Linked DNA regions of Homo sapiens: regions 1 and 3 are each linked to region 2. The links are contacts of gene promoters, found by promoter capture Hi-C in blood cells and fetal thymus (Javierre and others, 2016). All regions are on one chromosome and are shown on one strand. The core of a region is centred on a gene start or on the middle of the fragment in contact, and the rest is flanking DNA. Distances in the headings are between cores, read along the strand shown. Region 1 overlaps ZBTB5 (zinc finger and BTB domain containing 5). Region 2 holds the start of PAX5 (paired box 5). Region 3 overlaps ZCCHC7 (zinc finger CCHC-type containing 7).

Region 1 (3,073 bases), core at 3-2,502, 410 kb after region 2:
CTGAGGGGGATCACTTGAGCCCGGAGTCAGAACTTGCAGTGAGCAGAGATCACGTCACTGCACTCTAATCTGGGAGACAGAGTGAGACCCTGTCAAAAAAAAAAAAAGAAAAAAGAAATATGGAAGTCAATAGTGGAAGAAACAGCTGAAATAATTGAAAGTGGTTGCCTCTGAGGAGTGGGTAATTGATGGGGAAAAGGATGGGACAGGGGACTGCTGTTTTGTTGTTGTTTTTGTTTCTTTTTACCTATAAGCCTTATGGAACTATAGGCTGGGTGTGGTAGCTCATGGCTGTAATCCTAACCCTTTGGGAGACTGAGGCGGGCAGATTGTTTGAGCTCAGGAGTTCGAGACCACCTTAGGCAACATGGCAAAACCCCATCTCAACTAAAAATGCAAAAAGTAGCCGGCCATGGTGGCGAGTGCCTGCCATGTAGTCCCAGTGTACTTGGGAGGCTAAGGTGGGAAGACTGCTTCAGCCCAGGGGGCAGAGGTTATAGAGAGCAAAGATCGCTGCACTGCACTGCAACCTGGGCGACAGAGCAAGTCTCTGTCTCAAATAAATAAATACATAAAAATGTATACACATATATTTATAAAATTAAATTTAAAAAAGGTAGATCTATGATATTCTAAAGGGATATACCTGAGATCTTTGCAAATCTCCAAAATTCACAAATACCATCATGGCATTTCATAAGAAGGCAGCATGGGTGCCAAGTGGCTCCCCAGGCCCAACCACTTGCTCTGATGTCCCAGCCATACAGCCTTACAGGCCAAAGTTGGTCAGGATCCTGGGAAATAACTGAAATGGCAAACTAAGTCCACAAAATTCAAGGGTCTACTGTGGCGACTGAGACTATTATGCTATTCAGCTATACTTGGAAAGTTAACTATCGGAAAAGCAAATGCCTCAAAGCAGCAGACACATGTTGGCCATATTGTTTTGCCTATGTTTGTTGAGCTTTGATGAACTTTCAACAACAAAATAGATCACACATACTTTCCCACTGAGGTGTCTGTTCTTTGCTATCATGTATGAGAGATCAGATCTCCAAAGATGCAGCCACTGCCACATCCCTTCTTGCTTTACCAAGCTTTCCGGCAGAAAGCAGAGAGCCAGCAGTGGCAGGCAGCAGCACACACATCCCGGGTCCCCACCCGACTCACTCAGGGCCCACAGAGCTTAAGGCTTTGGGGAGATTAAACAAAATGCAATTACTGCTCATTAAGTCTATAGCCCTGCCTTAGAAAGTACACTCATATATGAATAAGTGCCAAGTTCCAGAGGGGTAATTATTTTGTAGCAGTAACAGGGAAGAAACATTCTGGTTTGAGGAATAAAATAAACAGGGAATTGTGGTGGGAAGTTGTACAAGACTCAGAGTTGCTCTTCTAAGCGACCATGGAAGCTTGGGCTCAACAGGCAAAAACAAGGAACACTAGACACTCAGCGTTACTGCTTTCTCTCCTACAGTGGGGAATAGACCCAGTGTATTAGTCTGTTTTCAACTGCTATAAAGAAATACCCAAGACTGGGTGATTTATAAAGGAAAGAGGTTTAATTGACTCACAGTTCTGCATGGCTAAGGTGGCCTCAGGAAACTTACAATCATGGTGGAAGGCAAAGGGAAAGCAAGGACCTTCTTCACATGGTGGCAGAAGAGTGTGAGTGTGTGAAGGAGAAACTGTCACTTATAAAACCACCAGATGTTGTGAGAACTCACTATCAGGAGAACAGCATGGGGGAAACCACCCCCAGGATCCAATCACCTCCTTCCCTTCATGTGGGGATTCAATTTGAGATGAGATTTGGGTTGGGACAGAGCCAAGCCATATCACCCAGCATTGTAGTAACAGTCTCACTGGTGACAGTAACAGAGGTAATGGTAGTGGTAATAAAATATATATTTTTTACTGTGCTTTTTTTTTGAGACAGGGTTTCACCCTGTTGCCCAGGCTAGAGTACAGTGGCATGATCATAGCTCACTGCAGCTTTGAACTCCTGGCTTCAAGCAATCCTCCTGCCAGCCTGGGATTACAGGTATAATAACAGTAATTACTGAGAGCCTGACAGTCATTATGCTAAGTACTTTTAATTTACATTATTTCTAATCTTCAAAACAACAGTGGCAGGTGGGAATTATTTTCCTGAGTTAATAGGTGAGGGGGGCCATAAAAGACTGACTTCACAAATAAATAGTATTTCAACTAGGCATACTGATTTAAAAGGGCACTAATATTCTGCTCAATGCTTCTTTTTTTTTTTTTTTAGATAAGCAAAAGAACTTATATGAGAAAAATGGCTTACTTAAAAATTACGGGGCTGGGCATGGTGGCTCATATCTGTAATTCCCAGTACTTTGGAAGGCCAAGATGGGAAGATTACCTGAGCCTAGGAGTTGGAGAACAGCCTAGGCAATATGGCAAGCCCTCATCTCTAAAATAAATAAATAAACAATTTTTTTAAATTGTGGTCCCAGAAACACCATTTTGAGGAAATTTTCCAAGAGCCAGGGGATCTTTGAAAAGAGGCTACTGAGGTAGCTAAACACAACCCCAACAAAGATAAAAGGTTTAAGTAATACTGGAAGACAGGCAAACAGTACCTACAATCTTTTAACTTCCCATCAGCCTAGAGATCCTCAGCTCTACACTAGATCCCCCATCACAGGCCTTGAGACCAACTCAAGTTCTCCACATTCCTCTCAAAACACTTTAGGGATGCTTGGAACTTCCTGTTATACCTTGTTGGCAGACCATCTTCAGGCAATACAGAGGCTAATGTCTGCATCATAACTATGATTCCACCTTGGGAAAGTGGGAATCACAATTTGCAGACTATCCAAATGTGAAGGGGGGAAGGGGTGCTCAGAAGATTCTGGGGAGCTGCAAATGACAGATGTCCACCTAGCATCCCTCTGACAAATAGGGCCCCTCTACATATTAATCCATGTGACTTTGGAAATGCATAGTTTTACTGAGTAAGAGGTGATCTTCCTGGAAATGAAAGAAAGAACCAAACAACAGAAGGCCAGATGAGTTGGTGTTACACTGTAACATCTTCAATTAG
Region 2 (3,327 bases), core at 253-2,752:
GATTCATGCCTCAGGGCAGATGGAGGCCTACTGTCCCTGCTATCTCCTCTCAGACATAAACACATCCTGCTACCTACTTCTCAGGCCTGTGGGAGGCACATGGGGACCTAAGCCAGGGAGGCCTGTGCGCATACAGGCCCTAGAGCTGAATGCCCAGACTATGCACATGCATCCACCCACTGTGCTCTCCTCCACTGGTGCGGCACCCACAGGATAAAACCTGAGGACACAGTGTGTGTGTGTCTGTGTGTACACACAAATACACACGCCAGTGTCAGAGGCTTGTCTAGGTGAAAGTGAATGTAGGCTGGGGGTCCCTAGAAATGTCACAACTAACCCTACAGGTGTCCGCTGTCATCTGCAAGGTTGTGCCTGCCACAGGAGACCTGTTTGTACAAATGGTAGCCTGAACAGTGCTCACTGCACACCAAGAGGCTGCATGCCCTGAATTCACACCTTCATTCCTGGTCCTATCTCCCAATAGAATGGACACTGGGCCTTACAATGCACATGCTAAACACCACGGATCTCCATAGGCCCCAGACCCACGTCTAGGAGTTTGCCTAGAGACACAATGTGAACATTGGCGTGTATGCATCGGACAGCCGTTGACATCCAAAAATGGAAAGGTCAGTGTAGCCACTTCTTTCTCACATCCAAAAATCACTTGGGATATAACAGGTGAATGCAGACCCTTTAAATAGTGGATGTACACTCAGATATTTCCGAATTACATAAATAACACTCATAGTAGACACACATTTTGGATACCCAAAAGAATATACACAAGTACTAACTTATAAACACACACGAATACCCCACGAGTATAAAGATACACACACACACACACACACACACACACAGGCAAACAACTTTTGGACACAAACTCATATATTTTTACATCTTTTAAAAATACATATACTGTAATGAACACACTGAGTCCCTTATATAAACACACAGGCCCTAACTTGCAGACCCCCGGAAGGACGCCAGCGTGAACATTCAGAAACAGAGAAAAACACAGACAAACTCACAGATATTTGGACTGATGCAGAAGTGTGTGAACAGATAGGTGAAAAAACATAACAAACACGCCGCAGTTAGACAGTCTCTACGAAAATGCGGCGCGCCCCCTCCTCCTCCAGGGTCACCCTGCGTGGGGACCAAGGCCTGGCCGTGTCCCGGAGTTTGCACATCTGGAGCCCGTATCGCGGTCCTACCTGTCCTGCTGGTCCGAGGAGTCGGATAATTTTTCTCTAAATCCATTTTGATTTTTCAGGACTTGATGGAATGGACAGGGAAAAGTTTCCACTTTTTTGTGCCTTTTTTTTTCTTTTTTTTTTTTTTTTTTTTTTTTTTTTGGTGCCAGGGGCCGCTCACAGGTCGGAATAATTCAAGCCTTCCGCTCCCCCGCCGAGCTGGGGTAGCTGATCACTGAGCTGAAACTAAACGTTTTAGGTGGAAAAAAAGCGTCCGAAGGCACCGTGAAATGATTAAGGAACTAAAGAGCTTCTCGCCATGTGAGATCATGTCCTGTTCTCGCCAACATCACAAGATGTCCCCAGACACGCCGCGCCCCCAGCGCGCCGCCCCACACTGCCGGCCCGGAGCGAGGAAAGGGTAGGCGCTGCGCGGCCGGGCCTGCTCAGCGCGCCAGACGTGGCGGACCCGGCCCGGCCGGAGTAGAGCGGGAAGCCGGGAGAGCAGCAGTGCTGCTGCCGCGCCGCCCCAGACTTTTATAGGGGTTGGGGGGAGGGAAGGAAGGCTTCAGCCTGCGCCGGGCGCTAGCCAGCGCACCTACGGGAAGGGGCAGACCGAAGCGGAGCCCGGGAGCCCGGGTCTTCCAGCCGCACCTTCTATTAAGACATGCGCTTGGGGGTCGCGGCCCTCTGCGCTGTGCGCGGGGCCTGTGACATCTCCATGTGCAAACCCCGCTGCTTAGACGAGCGCAGGCCGGGTTTTTGTTTTTGAAGAAATTAACTGCTCGGCCAAGCAGGTGCTTTTGAAAGGGGTTGCAAAGGCTGGCAGTGTTGCCAGGCACCGAGGCGACGTTCCGGTTTACTCCGATTCACCCCTAGGGCGGCGCCCGACCCCAGGGTTCCCAGCCATCCAACCCCCACCCCAATTTGTTGGGGTCCTGACTATTGCTGGGCCCCTGACCCTAGGGCAGCGCCAGATCCCTAAAGCCCCCAGGTCCCATCCAGTCTTCTAGTCCCAGAACCCCTCCCCACATCAAGTTCCATTCTGGCCCAGAGCATGGAGGTTAAGCTGTGAAATACTGGAGATGAAATCCGGGCTTCCGCTTTGGAGCACCCGGGCAGAGCAGAACATCTCAGTAGTTTCTGGAGATTGGCGGGAGTTCCAGACACCTTACCCCGGCCCATAAGTGGAATCGCATTGCCCTCGAGCCCTGAGACGTTGTGGAGTCCCAGAGCCCCAGGACTTGATTCCAGAGAGGAAATCAGATCCACAGAGACCGAGCAGAGGTGTGGCATGTCCAGCCCTCTCTCTTCGGGCCAGACTCAAGCCTCCCCTCCCTGTTCCCCTCCCCAGCCTTGAGTTAGTTCAGCTGCTGGGCCTAGCCACTGAAAGCCTGTGGGGCCCTGCAGCGGGGTGGTCGCAGGGGAAAGGTTCTCCAGGGCGGGGGAGCGCTCCGTAGGAGGACTCCTGGCCCGCCGGACAATGGCAGTTTTGGAGAGTGAATCGTCCTCAGCAAGAGTGTTGTTTGTTTTTTGGAGGGGGTGGTCACGAGGCTGGGTCGCAACCTAGGGGGAAGAGCCTAGAGCTCGAGGAAAGGGGGGCCCCCGGCGGCAACTGGACATCACATATCCACTGAGCAGATTTCGCCACAATCGGAAATGTGGCTGTGGATTCCCGGGCGGCCCCCCCACCAAGTGGTCTGCGCAGTTCCCCAGCGCCGCCTCCTCCCTGCAGCCTGCGGGCCCGTGTCCCTACCCCGAGATTTGATTTTTGGCCATCTCCGAGTGCTCGACTCTTTCCCTCCGCAGCCCAGCCCCAGCCCAGGCTTCCCGCCCTCCCGCCTCGCCCGCGCCGGGAGGCAGCGCCTGGGAGGAGCGGCCTGTCCGCGCCTGGAGATCAAAAGCCCTCCCGGAATTGACATTTCACCCCGGGCTGGGGGCGGGGGGTGTTGGTGTTTTGTTGTTGTTGTTGTTTCCATTTAGAGGGCTTGTTTTGTTTTTGTTTGTTTTCTGTGAGTTTTCATTTTTCCATGGGATATTCTTTTGTTTCGGGTGTTTTGCGTGTTGTTTTTTCGTGGGATTGATTTTAGCGGGTTTTGCTCTGTAAGTCCTGGTCTTTGGGGTGAGT
Region 3 (3,310 bases), core at 22-2,521, 310 kb after region 2:
CTTCATCTTATATAACCCATCAGTAGCTTTTAACAGTTTCTTCCTTGAAACATCCATTCTGCCTTCATATCTATGACATCATCTCTTTTGTTTTTATTTCTCTTAAGCCATGTATGCTTGTGGCTGCAATTTGATGTCACGTCAAATAATATAGCTGTCTTTGTGGGTGGAAAATCATTTCTGCTTAATAATTTCATGTCTTCACAGTGTTCTATCTGAAGAAATTTGTGAACCACTGCAATAAGGGATACATGGCTTACATGCGTACCTGTTAAAACTCTGTTTAGGCTGGGTGTGGTGGCTCATGCCTGTAATCCCAGCATTTGGGGAGGCTGAGGCAGGCGGATCACTTGAAGTCAGGATCAACCTGACCAACATGGCAAAACCTCATCTCTACTAAAAATACAAAAATTAGCCAGGCGTGCTGGCATGTGCCTGTAATCCCAGCTACTCTGAAGGCTGAGGCAGGAGGACAACTTGAACCCAGGAGGCCGAGGTTGCAGTGAGCCGAGATCGTGCCACTGTGCTGCAGCCTGAGTGACAGAGCAAGACTCCATCTCAAAAAAAAAAAAAAAACTCTTGTTTAATGACTTTTAGCTAGTCTTAATTTATGAACCCCATTTTTAATTGCAGAATATAAAACGGTTGTTATTTTTATTATATCTCAATTGATAATACCTGAGGTTGTAAATTCCATTTTGTGTAGCTTTCAGTAGGAAAGATTATTGAGGTTATTGTTTTGCTACAGTTTTTCATTTTAGGGAATAAGAGCTGAAAGTAAAGTTGTTTGAAGTAGTTTTTTTTGTTTTGGTTTGGTTTGGTTTGGTTTGGTTTGGGTTTGCGTTTGGGTTTTGTTTTTTGCGACAGAGTTTCGCTCTTGTTGCCCAGGCTAGAGTGCAATGGCACGATCTCTGCTCACTGCAACCTCCGCCTCCCAGGTTCAAGTGATTCTCCTGCCTCAGCCTCCTGAGTAGCTGGGATTACAGGCATGCACCACCACGCCTAGCTAATTTTTGTATTTTTAGTAGAAATGAGGCTTCTCTATGTTGGTCAGGATGGTCTCAAACTCCTGACGTCAGGTGATCCACCCACCTTGGCCTCCCAAAGTACAGGGATTATAGGCATGAGCCACTGTGCCTGACCTGAAGAAGATTTTTATAACCTATTTATTATTTTCCTATATCAAGGAAATAAGACCTTTACAAAACACCTGTTTGCAACATTAAAAACAAAATTAGGGGGCCTGGGCACGTTGGCTGTAATCTCAGTACTTTGGGAGGCGAAGGCAAGCAATTCACCTGAGCCCAGGAGTTTGAGACCAGCCTAGGCAACATGGCAAAACCCCATCTCTACTAAAAATAGAAAAAATAGCTGGGCATGGTGGCAAGCACCTATGGTCCCAGCTACTCAGGAGGCTGAAACCCAAGGATTGCTTGAGCCCAGGAGGTGGTGTTGTGGTGAGCTGAGATTGTGCTGCTGCACTCCAGCCTGAGCGACAAAGCGAGACGCTGTCTCAAAGAAAAAACAAAATTAGGGCTGGCCATGGTGGCTCATGCCTGCAGTCTCAGCACTTTAGGAGGCCAAGGTGAAAGGATCACTTGACCCCAGGAGTTCCAGACCAGTCTGGGCAACATAGTGAGTCCCTGTCTCTACCAAAAATTTAAAAAACAATAATATAAAAATTAAAGTAGCCAGGCGTAGTGGTGCACTCCTGTGGTCTCAGCTACCTGGGAGGCTGAACTGGGAGGATCGCCTGAGCCTGGGAGGTCGAGGCTGCAGTGAGCCATGATTGTGCCTCTGTACTCCACCTTGGGCAACAGGGGAAGACCCTGTCCAAAAAAAAAATTAGTTGGCAGACTAGCACTGTTTGTTAAAGACTTTCAATAAACAACATAAGAAATAAAGTGATCCACGTTTAAGCCGATCCTTAACTTTTCTTCCAGTCTCCACAAAGCGTGGGGGTGTGCAGGGGTTAGGTTTTTCTCCCCCTGTTTACAGCCACCACCTCCTCAGAGGTCTGTGTCCATCATCTCCTTTCCTCCTCTGGTTTCAACTTCTCCATCTCCATTATCTTTCCCAGATGTTCAAGTCTTTCCCATTCTATAAACAGATTCCACCAAATCCCCTTCCTGGGTACTGCTTCATCTTATTCTGCCGCTTCATGCTTCTCAATATATAACTTCTCTCTCCTACAACTTCCATTCAATTTTTTAAAACATTTTTTGTTCTGAAATAATAGGTTAGTGCAAAGGTAATTGAGGTTCTTGCTATTAAATGGCAGAAACTGCAATTACAGTTACCTTTGCACCAACCTAATATACATACTGAAAAGTATGTAAAATACATGTGCAAAAGAATAAATTAGTTATGTAATACACACACAAGTTAACTATCGCCATGTTGAAGTAACAGAAAATTTCAGCTATGCCAATATCCTGTGTGCTGTTTCTCCTCACTGGAAGTAACCTGGCTTTAAAGAAAAAAAAAATCCGGGTTAAGTTCACAGATCCTGGCTTTTATGAGTAATGATTTCTTTGCTCTTTTTGTAGTTTTACCACCTTTGTATGCATTACTTTACTGTTCATCCTGCTGCCTTGTACTCTTTCTAGAATATCTCAGAATTTTCACAGTAAGGTTATCTGTGAGCAGTTGCCACTTCAAGTGGATGTTTCTCAGTCCTAATCTCACTAGGCCTCTCTGCTATATTTAACATTGTAGATCAGTTCATCCTTCTTGAAACAACTCTAAAGTCTGTTACTGTATTCTCCTATGTCTCTGCATCCTTTAACCTTCCCTTCTATGTCCATTTCACAGGCTCCTCTGCCCACCCCTTAAACATTGATGTCTTCAGGGTTCCTTCCTCAGCCCACAGCCACTCTTACACTGTCCATGGTGATCCTGTCCACTCTAGTGATTTCAGCCTTCACTCTTATGCTGATTACTTTCAGATCTACTCTTCAGCTCAGACTCTTCTGTCTCTACATAGAAACTGCCTCCTGGAGATCCTTACCTAGATACTCCATATCCAAGACAGTCTTCATCAACTTTGCCTCTAAACTTGCTCCTCTTTCTTTTTCTACTTTTTCTGAATCAATCCTTGTTCACCCATGTTCAAAATCTGGAGGCATCCTGATTTTTCCTTTCCCTCATTCCCCACGTCTTTTCAATGACCAAGTGATACCAGTTCGTTCTTTCTTTCTTTCTTTCTTTCTTTCTTTCTTTCTTTCTTTCTTTTTTGACATGGAGTCTCGCTTTTGTCGCTCAGGCTGGAGTGCATTGGTGCGATCTTGGCTCACTGCAACCTCCGACT

The links. Contacts are between HindIII fragments. The CHiCAGO score rates a contact against its expected background, and 5 or more counts as called.
Region 1: a fragment that was not itself captured here is called in contact with the fragment with the promoter of PAX5 in region 2 in 1 of 17 cell types (total B cells); the score reaches 5.7 in total B cells.
Region 3: a fragment that was not itself captured here is called in contact with the fragment with the promoter of PAX5 in region 2 in 5 of 17 cell types (total B cells, naive B cells, activated CD4 T cells and 2 more); the score reaches 18.1 in total B cells.

The regions. Positions count from the first base shown.
Region 1 is chr9:37,445,550-37,448,622 of GRCh38, forward strand. The region is part of intron 1 of ZBTB5 (zinc finger and BTB domain containing 5); the gene reads right to left. Among named protein-coding and RNA genes, the nearest start is that of ZBTB5, 18 kb to the right of the region's middle. The HindIII fragment of the contact is 315 bases long and covers 1,096-1,410 here.
Region 2 is chr9:37,032,766-37,036,092 of GRCh38, forward strand. It overlaps PAX5 (paired box 5), which reads right to left and starts at 1,503. Exons shown (of 10, transcript NM_016734.3): 1 at 1,221-1,503. The coding sequence starts at 1,266. RefSeq lists silencers at 1,269-1,389, 1,656-1,835, 2,916-3,075, a promoter at 1,649-2,087 and an enhancer at 2,166-2,215. The HindIII fragment of the contact is 10,408 bases long and covers 1-3,327 here.
Region 3 is chr9:37,345,160-37,348,469 of GRCh38, forward strand. All of the region lies in intron 6 of ZCCHC7 (zinc finger CCHC-type containing 7), which reads left to right. Among named protein-coding and RNA genes, the nearest start is that of LINC01627, 48 kb to the right of the region's middle. The HindIII fragment of the contact is 8,473 bases long and covers 1-3,310 here.